Linked DNA regions of Homo sapiens: regions 1, 3 and 4 are each linked to region 2. Evidence: promoter capture Hi-C in 16 types of primary human blood cells and fetal thymus (Javierre and others, 2016). All regions are on one chromosome and are shown on one strand. The core of a region is centred on a gene start or on the middle of the fragment in contact, and the rest is flanking DNA. Distances in the headings are between cores, read along the strand shown. Region 1 holds the start of KNL1 (kinetochore scaffold 1). Region 2 holds the start of OIP5 (Opa interacting protein 5). Region 3 holds the start of CCDC32 (coiled-coil domain containing 32). Region 4 holds the start of RMDN3 (regulator of microtubule dynamics 3).

Region 1 (3,179 bases), core at 520-3,019, 740 kb before region 2:
GCATGCACTTCTTTATGAATGCATAACATTACAAGACATAATAGCAGGTCTAAAAATTACCACAATTTTGAAGTAGCAATGAGCGTAAAGCAATAACAGTAATCTGATATAAAAATATCTGTGATTTCTATTGGTGACAAAATAATGGATAAGGTTAATATTACTGTAGTTAGTTGCTTACCGTTATTGAAGGATGTGCTTTCAATTAGGGAGTGTGGAAATAAGGATGAAATCTTTTTCTGAACCAAATAACCCACTGAATTCTATCCATGGACCCCTTGGAAATGCGTGGAACCCAGCAGAAACCCTTCCTAGCAGCAGGGTAGAGAATGCATTGGAGAGCAAGGCTAAGGAAGGGTGACTCAATGTCCTGAGCCCAAGGAGGTATCAACATTCCCAACGGATTTGGATCTGTAACAGAAAGAAGCCACTGGAGCCAGCAGAGAATGGGGCCACTGCTTTCCATACTCAGTGCCCAAACCTTGCTGAAGCACCTGCCAGAGGCCGTGTTGTGGAGCATGGTGCAATGCAGACAGCCTTGTGGAGGAGACAATCTGTAAACCATGACTGCAAAAGATTGATAAATACTGATTATTAATCTACAGCACAGTGTAGGATTGATAAATACTAATTATTAATCTACAGCACAGATTAGAAGGGTGATTAAGCCAGCGTCTAGTAGATTTGGGTTACACTCTCCTTTCTTCAATTTAGAAGCTGTATAACCTCGGGCAAGCTAATCTTTCAGTCTCCTCATCTGTAAAATGGAGTAATAAAAATATTTGTCATGATCAAGGGTTATAGTGATGTAATTCATGTAAAACATGTGGTGCCTGTAGATAATAAATACCGGATAAAGTGTCTCATGGTAGCTTTTGAAGTGAAACCTGGTATCTCATAATCAGGACAGGTGTTAAAAACCCCAGAGTAACAGTCTACAATAATTGAAACTCCTCAGTTAGGAGCTGTGTTAAAGTTGGAACAGAGCAGCATTGGAACATATGGGATGGTAATAATTGTGGAATTCTATTCACTGTTGTTAACTCCATATAAAAAGAAATTAAATCCAGCATGATTTCTGATTCCTGGAAAGTCTCTTTCCCTCCCTTTTCTTTATCTGTGATGTCAGAACGTTCCAAATACTGTATTTCAACATTTCAGGCCTGAAACTGATGGTGCCAGATTAATTGAGTAATAAATAATAAGTATTCAAGTTTTTCCGCTCTGCAAATTTACTTTGGTTATTAAAAAATTTATTCTGCTCTGCAAATTTACTTTGGTTATTAAAAAATTTATTCTGCTCTGCAAATTTACTTTGGTTACAAGCAAAAGTAAGCCACCACATCGACGAGGATGGGATTCGAACCCACGCGTGCAGAGCACAATGGATTAGCAGTCCATCGCCTTAACCACTCGGCCACCTCGTCCCGGTAAGTTACTGTTTCCTGATTGCTATAGGGAGTAATATCAAGGGGCTGTGACGCAATGTTATGGAAGCCGCCATTTTGTACGGAAGCCAAAGTCCAATCACTTCCATAGCAAGCAATCGAAAGAAGATGGCCGCTCCCACGATTGTGGGGGAGGTCTCCACTGGGGAGGGGCAGAGGAAATTCGGTCGAAAAAGAGATAAAGCTGAAGGAAATAAAATTGGCACGGAGTCTGGGAAAGTAGTTTCCCTAAAGGAGTCTTAGAAATAGGGTTGGTCTGGAACCTAAGGGGCGGAGCCGACGCGTAGAGCCGCTTTGCGCGTGCGCATCACCTAGGCGGTTAGATTTGAATACTTCACTGAGGCGAGCCGGGCGTTGTGAGCGGACTGCTAGAGGCGGCTGTCTGTTTCCGCTCTAAGGAAACTCAGAGCGTGTGGACCCCAAACAAGTCTGCGCAAAATTTGTCGAGGAGGTTTGCCGCGGCAGGTAAAGAGAATGACTCTTTCGTTCTGGGCTTCAGGGAAGGCTTCGGGTTTTGTCTGGGCGCCCTGAAGTTCCTGCGGTGGGAGGTAGGGTACGCTCCCTCAGCCTGGCGGCCTCCGTTAGCGCCGGGCCGAGTAGACGCCCCTGCCCCGGGCCGGGCACACTGTGCCCTTTTTCCCCTCCTCGGCCTGTACGTTGTGCCGCCTCCCGCTTCCCTAACACTTCTCCGCCTGCACCTCGGCCCCTCCGGCCACCCGGCTCGGGTTGCTTGTCCGTCGCTCTCTTGGCGTCCTCTTCCGCCCCGCCCTGCCGTCCTCTGTCAGGGCTCGCGGACTCTTCTTGCACCCCTGCCGCTCTTCCCTAGGGACCTCTCGGCTGTTTGTATTTCTCACTTAAGCTTTTTTTGGCTCTAAATGAAGTGACAGCAATGAGTGATTTTAAAATTCTCAGCTCTTCGTGGTTTAAGGTGTCTGCTCGGAGTGCTGGCCGCACGTAACAGATTTTTCGTTTTCTGCAAGTATAATAACCTTAACAAATGAAGTCAATATTAGTACTGCGCAAATTAGTTTTTAAAAATCCTCTTCTGTTCATTATTCCTCAGGATTTAAGCCCTTATTCTTCACGTTTATTTAAATACTCAAGTTTGAGGGAGGAAAAAGTATTGCCGATTGGAATTTTACAGATAGGTTTAATAGGCATTAACAGATAAAGGATGTGGATGAAGACCAAAGCAGAAGCTTATTCCAGTCTAGATATTAAAATTGATGTTTTCACTTCCGTCGAATCCTGTAGATATTTATTGGGTTCCTTATCCTGTGATAGGGCCGGGGACAGATGATTCCCAAACCTAGAGGGGTTTACAAAGGGAAATAACTAATATACACAAATAACTAGAATACAAGACAGAATGTAAAAGATTATAGGACATTCTAAAGTGGTGTGGGAGCACGGAAAAGGGAGAGCTTATTTGATGCTTTTGGTGATGGATTTGTGGAGAAGACCGCATTTGAGGTGGACGTTGGTTGGAGAGATGATTTACAGATGGGAGTTAATATGTGGTAAAATTTTGGTAATTAAAGGTTAGGGTCAAAGCAGTATAATTCTTGACTTTGCGAATGGCTGGAAATCTTTACAAGATGATAAATACATGTAAATTGAATTAAAATGTTTGGAATGGTAGTATTAATGATGTGTTCGATGTTAAATAATAGACTGTAAAAGATACTGACTCTAGATATTGCCAGTAAAGCAGTGCTGTCCAACAGGGCT
Region 2 (3,074 bases), core at 258-2,757:
GGACAAAGCAACTAAGAATTCCTATATTTTAACCGTAACGTTGAATCAAACTGGTCAGAATGAAATGAATTGTCTCAATGTTAAAGCCAAAACTCAAAATTGAGGAGCCTTGCAATACCAAATTCACTGACTACTTTATTGTCACTTGTAAATCATAGTACAGGCAGGTCGCAAAGTTTACCAGGCAGTATTCAAGTACATAACATTCTAGTTGTGTTTTTCTCCAGTTTCTGGGGTTACTGAAGAATTAGCCCTGGCATAGCTTATTACAAACTAACCATAATCGCAAACTTAAAAGTTCTAATATCAAGCGTGGGCAACATACTAAGGCCTCTACAAAAAATTTAAAAATTAGCCGGGAGTGGTGCTGTGTGCCTGTAGTCCCAGCTACTCCGGAGGGTGAGGTTGGGAGGATAGCTTGAGCCAGGAAGGTAGGGGCTGTAGTGAGCTATGAGCGCACCAGTGCACTCCAGCCTGGGCGAGAGCAAGACCCTGTATCAAAAAGTTCTAATATCTAAAAGGATTGTAGTTTATAGTATGTTATTCTCACTGTAAACCAAAAGGTTATTTTTTTCTTTTGTCCACTACTAGATACATCTTTCTTAGCCTCACTTCACTTGTACAAGCCACCTGGGAGAAGTGGCCCTCAGGAAGATCCTAAAACCAATACACAAATACAACTTTTTCATTTCATTAATACATCAAGTTCATATAAGAGTCAAACAGGTAAAAGCAGCATCCCAAACTGTTTTCTCCTCGTACATGTCAGTTCCACGATCCTCAGTCTCATAAAGTCAGGGACTAGAGACCAATGTAATTATCAATACGTACCTGCCTTTGAGTGAACCTTCAATGCCAACTAGGAAGGGCGCTTCCAAAACGACGTTATTTGTAACTCCTAGGAAGACAAACACGGGTCAGAACCCATACTCTGCGGGCCTTGAAATGGAAAATCTCTCCTCTAGACAGACTCATCCTGGCCGTAAATATCAGGAGACTCCCCGATTCCCTGCCCCATCCCCAGGCCAAGGAGTTATTTGCTTCCAACTTTTCATCCCGTTTTCTTCCCCAGGTGGTTCTCCGCCACCCGGTGGAGAAAGCGGGAACACCCTCTCGGGCTAGCCTCTGCCTTTCCCGAACGCTTCACTGCACTCACTGGAGAAGACCACGGCCCCGAGGGACCGCGACAGGTCCCAGGCGAGGTGCACCGAGTCGGCGAGCACTGCGTGACACTGTGCGCACTGGAACACAGCGCACCTCTCAGGCTGCAGCCAAGACGGCAGCTGCGGGCCGGCGGCTGGCTCCTCAGCCCCCAGCCCTGCGGGGCCGAGCGGCGAGGACCCCTTCACCACCTGCGTATCCCACTCCATGGAGGTCGTAAAAGAAGCTTGGTCAATCGCCCTCTCAGTGCCACCACAAAAGTCCCCCCGGGGCGGCGTTGCACAACGTGAGCGATGCCGCAGCGGCTGAGCCGCCATCTTCCCGCAGCCGGCGCCTTCCTTTCGAATACACGCCAGGCCCCGCCCCAAGCACAGCTCCTGCGTCCTCATTGGACATCATGGGCAATCCAAGCACTGGAGTCCGAGTCCGCGCACTCGTTACCTGAACAGGCGTTACAGGCCCTTTGGCGCCTGCGTATTCGTGAAGTGTGAAAAAAGCGCGCCTCTGTTGGGACGGGAAATCAGCCTTTCTATTGGTCAGGGTTAGAAACCCCGCCTTTGAGGCATTTTCAACCAATGGAAGCGCGGCATTCTTCATTTAAACTGTCTATAAATTTCTGCCTAGTCAAAGTTAAGAGTGGCGCCAGGGATTTGAACCGCGCTGACGAAGTTTGGTGATCCATCTTCCGAGTATCGCCGGGATTTCGAATCGCGATGATCATCCCCTCTCTAGAGGAGCTGGACTCCCTCAAGTACAGTGACCTGCAGAACTTAGCCAAGAGTCTGGGTCTCCGGGCCAACCTGAGGGTACGGCGCTGGCGGTGCGGGTCCCTGGGCGGGCGCGGCGGGAATAGCGGCCTCGGGGAGATGCGGTGCGAAGGGACCGAGAGGGAAGCCCGGGACTGAGGCAGCTCTCCCTGCCCCTCGGGCAGTAGATGTGGTTCACGGTAGTCCCAGTTAGAACTCTGATAAACGGAAGAGGAACTGTAGTTTTCACCTCATTTTGAAGCTGGCTTGTCTGGGTGCTCACATGATAAGCTCTATTCCGAGGGATGGTTTATTGTTTTTTGTTTTGTTTTGTTTTGAAATTACTGTATACCTCTCAGGGCGTCGATTACGAAACTCAGGCCCAGAAAGCACAAGGGGTGTCGTTAATCGTTAGACAATTAAGTAAATAATTGGCTCAGCTTCTGGAAAACCCCAAACAGACTCCAGTGATTTGTAATATTGCCGATAATCTCTTGATACTTTATTGATGGACCTGTCAGAAAAAAAAAATCGACTTTTAGGGGAGCACCTCCTTGGGTAAATTTTTATTGATGACTGTTGGGTTGATGGTCTCTATCAAAACCAGTAAGGTCTTTGACTCCGAGGCTACAAGATGTTTGGAGAGTTGGCCCGGCGCTGTGGCTCACGCCTGTAATCCCAGCACTTTGGGAGGTCGAGGCAGGCGGATCACCTGAGGTCAGGAGTTCGAGACCAGCCTGGCCCTTAAAAAATTAGCCGGGCGTGGTGGCACACGCCTGTGATCCAAGCTTTTTGCCTGTGATCCCAGCTACTTGGGAGGCTGAGGCAGAAGAATCGCTTGAACCTGGGAAGCCGAGGTGGCAGTGAGCCAAGATCGCACCACTGCACTCCAACTTCGGTGACAGAGAGAGACTCAGTCTCAAACAAAACAAAAACAAACAAAAAACCCAAGATGTTAGAAGAAGATTTGGGGATTTAATGTAGGATAGCGGTTTTATATATTTTGTTAATAGTTGAGACTTCCCACATAATACTGCTATATACTCTGGAGGTTTCTCCTGCAGGCTGTGATACTGACAGTGAGTAAATGCTTAAATCAATCGTCACAATTTTTTTTTTATTTGTTTGTTTGTTTGTTTTTTCTTTGAGACGGAGTCTTGCTCTGTC
Region 3 (3,032 bases), core at 194-2,693, 770 kb before region 2:
GGAAATCGGGAGGGGCGGAGTCCCCTAGTGACGGAGCCCAGGAGTCCTCCAACTACCTTCCCACCCGACGATGTTCTGTGCGTCGATTGGTCGAGAGGAGCTCAGCGTGGTGAAGAAGTGAGGAGCAGCAAGAGGCGAGCGGTGGACGGGGCTCTGGTTGCCGGGAAACGGTGGAGTCACGTGCCCTGAGCATTGCCCCTCCCCTCCCGAGGGCCAGGTTGATTCCTTGCAGATCCAGGGTTCCAGTCCCTGCTTGGATAGGGAAGTCGTTTCCAAGACTTTTGACTTTTCCTAGTCGCCGGAGCCAGTTCACCTCCTCCACAACTTTCTCTGTCGGTGTTTGTCTTCTAAAAATTTCACCCCTTCGTTACCCAAATTAGAGCACTTCGGCGGCTTCTTTCCTTACTCTCCCAGGAGACTCGTGTCTCATTCATCAAATTATGAAGCTTTCCTTCATTCATTTAGTCAATAGATACCAAGCACCTGCTGTGTTCTAAGCATTGTGTTAAGCGTGAAGTTAAGACACATATGACTTGATATAAGTCCTGGAGATCCTTACAGCTTAGTAGTGTAGGAAGGGGGTCCGCCATGGAGGCATAAAAGTTTACAAATAACAGTAAACAGTGATAGACAGCCGGGCGCGGTGACTCACGCCTGTAATCCCAGTACTCTAGGAGGCCGAGGCAGGTGGATCACCTGAGGTCAGGAGTTCGAGACCAGCCTGGGTGAAACATGGTGAAACTCTGTCTCTACTAAAAGTACAAAAATTAGCTGAGCATGGTGGCACATGCCTGGAATCCTAGCTATTCGGGAGGCTCAGGCAGGAGAATCGCTTGAACCGGGAAGGCAGAGGTTGCAGTGAGACAAGATCGCACCACTGCATTCCAACCTGGGCAACAGAGCAAGACTGTCTCAAAAAAAAAAAAGGAGGGGGGCGTTGAGGATTATAGAGTATATGATGGAAGTGTGGCCAGAGTACATAAAGGAGAGAGTGGTCATAAGAAGTGTGTGTCAGAATGCTTTGTTGTTGTAGTTGTTAAAGGAGATGACCTTTGATATCCTTCAGGGGATAGATACCAGCTTGTTCATTGAGATCGACCCCTCCCCATCCCCAGCTTCCAGGATCAACACCAGTTACTCTCTCCCAAGAAACACGTGATGAAAGACATCAGCCAACCATCAGTAGCCAAGTAACTTGGCTGAGGAAATAGTTCTCACTCCAGCCTGGGTGACAGAGCAAGACTCCGTCTCAAAAAAAAAAAGAAAGAAAGAAAAAGAAAACAACAACAACAAAAACAACATAGTTTTAGGATTACAGATGTGAGCCACTGCGCCCAGCTAAAATACAATTTAAAATTCAGTTCCTGGCCGGGCTTGGTGGCTCATGCCTGTAATCCCAGAATTTTGGGAGGCTGAGGGGGTGTGGATCACCTGAGATCAGCAGTTCGAGACCAGCCTGGCCAACATGGTGAAACCCTGTTTCTACTAAAAATACAAAAATTAACTGGGCGTGGAGGCGCATGCCTGTAATCCCAGCTACTCAGGAGGCTGAGGTAGGAGAACTACTTGAACCCAGGAGGCGGAGGTTGCGCCACCACATCCGGCCTGTAATCCTAACACTTTGGGAGGCCAAGGTGGATGGATTGTTTGAGCCCAGTTTGAGACCACCCTAGGCAATGTGGCAAAACCTCGTCTCTACTAAAAATACAAAAAATTAGCCAGTCATGGTGGCACATGTCTGTCGTCTCAGCTACTAGGGAGCCTGAGGTGGGAGGATCACTTCAGTTTGGGAAGTCAAGGCTGCAGTGAGCCAAAATCGTGCCACTGCACTCCAGCCTGGGTGATGGGAGTGAGATCTTGTTTCAAAACTTGTTAAAATTTTAATTAATTTAAATTTAATTAGCCACATGTGGCTATTGTACAGCACATGGCTAATGGTGATCCTATTGTATAGCACAGGATTGGAGAATATTACATAGTTCACAGAACCTCAAGGTGAGTGGAGAGTCAGGCTTTAGGTCTATACAGCCAGGGACAGTATCTGAATCTCACTGAGAGACTGCTCAGGGAACACCCCACAGCCACTGAACATCTATAGCTGGCATTATTCGTCGATTGGGTACTTGACACAAGAACCTCCCCGACTGTTGGCCTCCCAGATTAGATGCCTCCAATGCTACCTTGTTAGACACGGATTTCACACTGAGCCTGCTTCCGCGGCTGTGTGCCTCTGAACCAAAGCCTCTGTCTAAGAGATAGAGCCCAGGTCAAATGCCTATGTCCAAGCTGCAAGAGAGTGTGGGAAGGCTCTGGCTTCTACCTTTTGGGGGCAGTAATGAAATGTGAGAAATTCCCCACCCAAAAGAAGGGTGTTCGGAAGATGCTGGATGTTTACAGAATATGACAAATGTCTACTCTACATGGTCTATGCCAGTGCTTCTCAAGCTTTAATATGCAGAAAAATCACCTGAGGATCATGTTAAAGTGCAGATTCTCATTTAGTAGGTCAGAAGGGGAGGAGGAACAAGATTCTGCTATGTTTTCTGTCTCCACAGTTTTGCCAGGCACTAGTCCAAGTATTTTACTTGAATTAACTAATTTAATTCTCCCACCCCAATCCTATGGAGCAAAGAGGCTAGCTAAGAATACATACTTTTCTTTTGGATAAGGTTCTGCTTTCACTGTAAATATCTTAATGAAATGATGCACTTGAGAGATGATGTCCCTCCTGTGAAGTAGTTTGGTTCTAACATACCCCACAATCAATGGAGAATTCTACCTCTTATTTCTGGAGGTAGTCAGGAATCAGACTTTTCAGCATATGGAGTTCTGCAGCTGTGGATACCTCAGCTGCAGTCCCTCAGTTAGTTTGGTGAGACTAATGACTTGAAGAAGGAATTTAGCTAAAAAAGATTTCCCTTTCTCCTCTCCAGAATACAAATGCCTAGGATAAGAATTAGACTGTCTTTTTTTTTTTTTTTTTTTTGGCAAACTAACATTGAAATGCCTCCTTATTTGGAAGAATCCCACTC
Region 4 (3,126 bases), core at 113-2,612, 580 kb before region 2:
TCTAATATATGATTTAATACATAAGCCTCAAGACTTTTAATCCCTACAAGATTATTCTTTTTGCCCTCTTTTGGACTCTTCCTCTACTTATTACACACCTCACCCAACACTAAGCAAGTGCCTTTAATACCCACATAGCACTATTGTGGCCAGAACTAAAAGTGAAAGTTAAACAGTCTTTTTGAAATATACTTTCTTGTGAGTACAGGCGAAAGAGTAGAGAAAACCACGACTGCTTTTTTTTTTTTTTTTTTTTTGAGACAGAGTCCCACTCTGTCACCCAGGCTGGAGTGCAGTGGCGCAACCTCAGCTCACTGCGGCCTCCGCCTACCAGGTTCAAGCGATTCTCGTGCCTCAGCCTCCCCAGTAGCTGGGACTACAGGCCGCGCCACCACGCCCGGCTAATTTTTGTATTTTTAGTAGAGATGGGGTTTCACCATGTTGACATCTGGTTGAACGTTGGCCAGGCTGGTCTTGAACTCCTGACCTCAGGTGATCCGCCCGCCTCGGCCTCCCAAAGTGCTGGGATTACAGGCGTGAGCCACCGCGCCCAGCCCGACGACTGCTTTTTCAACAAGCTTCCAAAAAAGTGAAACCCTAAAGCACTTCTCTCCGTTACCCTGTCCCACAGTCTCCACCGAAAGCAGCCCAGACCTCAGGCCCATTAGTCTGCAGTGACCGCGGTCTCAGGAGACGGGCTCCTACCGTGGCGTCCGGGATCTGAAGTCTGCGTATAGTCCAGGGAGTTGGGCAGGCTCTGGCTGCGGCCATGACGCTGGGTCCGTTTCCATCGCTGGCTGTAAAGGAGGCACAGGAATCCAAGGCCGGCGGCGGTACCCAGCAACAGTCCCAGCCCGGCACGGGCACCACCCAGGGCTCCCAGTCTAGACATGCTGCACCTGCGGCCAGCAGAAGTCACCGGGAGCAGGCAGGCGGGCGGGCGGGCGGGGGTAAGGAGAGAGAGAGATTCGTGAACCCGGTAAACCCACCCTCAAGGCTGAACCCCGGCAGGTATCCCCTTGCCCAAACCCTGAGCTCTCGACTACGTGCACCCCAGTCTGAACCCTAAGGCTTCCTCCAGCCTCCTGGGCCCCACTGCCTCTCTTCTCACCCAGCCTGGACGTAGCCGCCCCTCCAGTACACCCCCCGACCCGGGTCACAGAGTCCGGCTTCTGGGCCTTCAACCCCCACCTCAGCCTCACGACACTGCAGACCACAAACCCGGCGCCCTGGCTGCAAACTCCTGGCCTTCCGCCGCGGCCCCCGAAGGCGCTCTGGCCTGGCAGGAGATCCACTCAGACCCTTACCCGGCCGCCAGCCACCATGGCAGCAGCCGCCGCGGGCTCACGCTGTCAGTGACCGTGACGTCAGGCAGGCGGCGCCAGGTGCTCGGCGCCCTGCGGGAAGGCGCAGAGAGATGACCGCGCCGGCCCCGCCCCTTGTCTGTTTCCCTCAGGGGCGGGGCCACGGGCGCCGCCGGAGGGGCGGAGTCAGCACAGAGCGCGAAAGGAAAGCAAGAAGGGGCCCAAGACAGGGGAAAGGCGGGAAGGCAGGGAGACTTCTTGGGCGGACGCTCGCGCAGTCACCCTCACCGTCCGGCAGCCAGGCCTCCATTTCCCTCCGGTCACACCGGCTTAACTTGCTGCTCCCGGAATACGCTCAGCATATTCACACTTTCTACCTGCGCTTCTGCCTGGACCTCCCCTCTGTACCTGGAAAACGTCACGCTCTCCCCACATTTTATTTTTATTTTTATTTTGTAGAGACTGGGTCCCGCTCTCCTGGTCTCTCAAAGTGCGATCCGCCCGCCTCGGGCTCCCAAAGTGCGTGAGCCGCCGCACCCGGCCATAAATCTTAAACCTAACGTGCTGTCTTATAATTCTGTTTTACTCTTGTAATTGTATGCAACTTCTTATAATTGTGGCAACTAAAAAGACCGATTTTATGGACTATGATAACAATTTTATTGTGAACATTTCTTAAGAGTTAAAATTTAGTTTAGTGAAAGAAATATCTAGGCCAGTCCTCCCAATACCCTTGACTAGATCTTATATTTATTTACCCTTTAATTGTGAGATATTGTATACATATAAGAATACAGGAGGCCGGCCGTGGTGGCACGTGACTGTAGTCACAGATACTCTGGGGGCTGAGATGGGAGGATCACTTGAGCCCAGGTCGTCGAGGCTGCAGTGAGCCATGATCACTCTGGGCAACAGAAGTCAGGATATCGAGGCCACCCAGGCCAACCTGGCGAAACTCCGTCTCTACTAAAAGTACAAAAATTAGCTGGGCATGGTGGTGCACGCCTGTAATCCCAGCTACTCGGGAGGCTGAGGCAGGAGAATTGCTTGAACCCAGGAGGCAGAGGTTGCAGTGAGCCGAGATCTCGCCACTGTACTCCAGCTTGGGCAACAGAGTGAGGCCTCCTCTCAAAACAAATAAACAAAAACAACAACAACAAAAAATATATTTATATATATATAAAGTATATATATATATATACACTTTATTTTGGAGGAAATAAAAATTTCCTCTGGAAACCTTCCCAGATCACCACCTTGGTGAAATTAAGCTTTTCACCCTGCTTTGCTCCTGTGGCTCTATTGCCTCCATTATACTTTTTTTTTTTTTTTAGACGGAGTTTCGCTCTTTTCGCCCATGCTGGAATGCAGTGGTGCGATCTCGGCTCACTGCAACCTCCTCCCCCGCCCCTGGGTTCAAGCAATTCTCCTGCCTCAGCCTCCGGAGTAGCTGGAATTACAGGCTTGCACCCCCACGCCTGGCTACTTTTTGTATTTTCAGTAGATACCGGATTTCTACATGTTGGTCAGGCTGGTCTCGAACTCCTCACCTCAAGTAATCTGCTTGCCTCAGTCTCCCAAAGTGCTGGGATTACAGGCGTGAGCCACCGCACCAGACCCATTACACTCTGTTCTGTGATTATTTGCTTTCTACTCTGTCTACACCACTGGACTGCCCACTCTTCCAGGATGGGGTTCACTCCTGATTCATCCCAGGTCCCCTGTGCCTGGCACAGCTCTAATGCAAAAGCATCCATAAAAGCTGAATGGAGGAAGGAAGAAAAGAAGGCGTGACCGACAGCACGCCCTGCCACTTTGACAG

The links. The method cuts DNA at HindIII sites, captures the fragments that hold promoters and counts their contacts. A CHiCAGO score of 5 or more calls a contact.
Region 1: a contact is called between the fragment with the promoter of KNL1 here and the fragment with the promoter of OIP5 in region 2, in 6 of 17 cell types (fetal thymus, erythroblasts, total B cells and 3 more). The highest score is 9.1, in fetal thymus.
Region 3: a fragment that was not itself captured here is called in contact with the fragment with the promoter of OIP5 in region 2 in 2 of 17 cell types (total CD8 T cells and fetal thymus); the score reaches 5.3 in total CD8 T cells.
Region 4: a contact is called between the fragment with the promoter of RMDN3 here and the fragment with the promoter of OIP5 in region 2, in 2 of 17 cell types (erythroblasts and fetal thymus). The highest score is 8.1, in erythroblasts.

Annotation. Positions count from the first base shown.
Region 1 is chr15:40,592,480-40,595,658 of GRCh38, forward strand. KNL1 (kinetochore scaffold 1) reads left to right here and starts at 1,770. Exons shown (of 26, transcript NM_144508.5): 1 at 1,770-1,913. TRS-GCT4-2 (tRNA-Ser (anticodon GCT) 4-2) reads right to left here and starts at 1,427; the gene lies at 1,346-1,427. RefSeq lists a silencer at 1,320-1,369 and enhancers at 1,490-1,709, 1,930-2,249. The HindIII fragment of the contact is 4,787 bases long and covers 1-2,305 here.
Region 2 is chr15:41,331,084-41,334,157 of GRCh38, forward strand. OIP5 (Opa interacting protein 5) reads right to left here and starts at 1,508. Exons shown (of 5, transcript NM_007280.2): 1 at 1,157-1,508; 2 at 832-898. The coding sequence starts at 1,478. NUSAP1 (nucleolar and spindle associated protein 1) reads left to right here and starts at 1,798. Exons shown (of 11, transcript NM_016359.5): 1 at 1,798-1,967. The coding sequence starts at 1,875. RefSeq lists an enhancer at 1,262-1,521. The HindIII fragment of the contact is 1,308 bases long and covers 1,386-2,693 here.
Region 3 is chr15:40,565,029-40,568,060 of GRCh38, forward strand. It overlaps CCDC32 (coiled-coil domain containing 32), which reads right to left and starts at 14. Exons shown (of 4, transcript NM_001080792.4): 1 at 1-14. RefSeq lists enhancers at 413-462, 942-1,236 and a silencer at 2,189-2,368. The HindIII fragment of the contact is 1,999 bases long and covers 445-2,443 here.
Region 4 is chr15:40,753,892-40,757,017 of GRCh38, forward strand. It overlaps RMDN3 (regulator of microtubule dynamics 3), which reads right to left and starts at 1,363. Exons shown (of 13, transcript NM_018145.3): 1 at 1,192-1,363; 2 at 706-899. The coding sequence starts at 892. RefSeq lists a silencer at 754-968 and enhancers at 1,084-1,293, 1,504-1,623, 1,714-1,823. The HindIII fragment of the contact is 1,997 bases long and covers 577-2,573 here.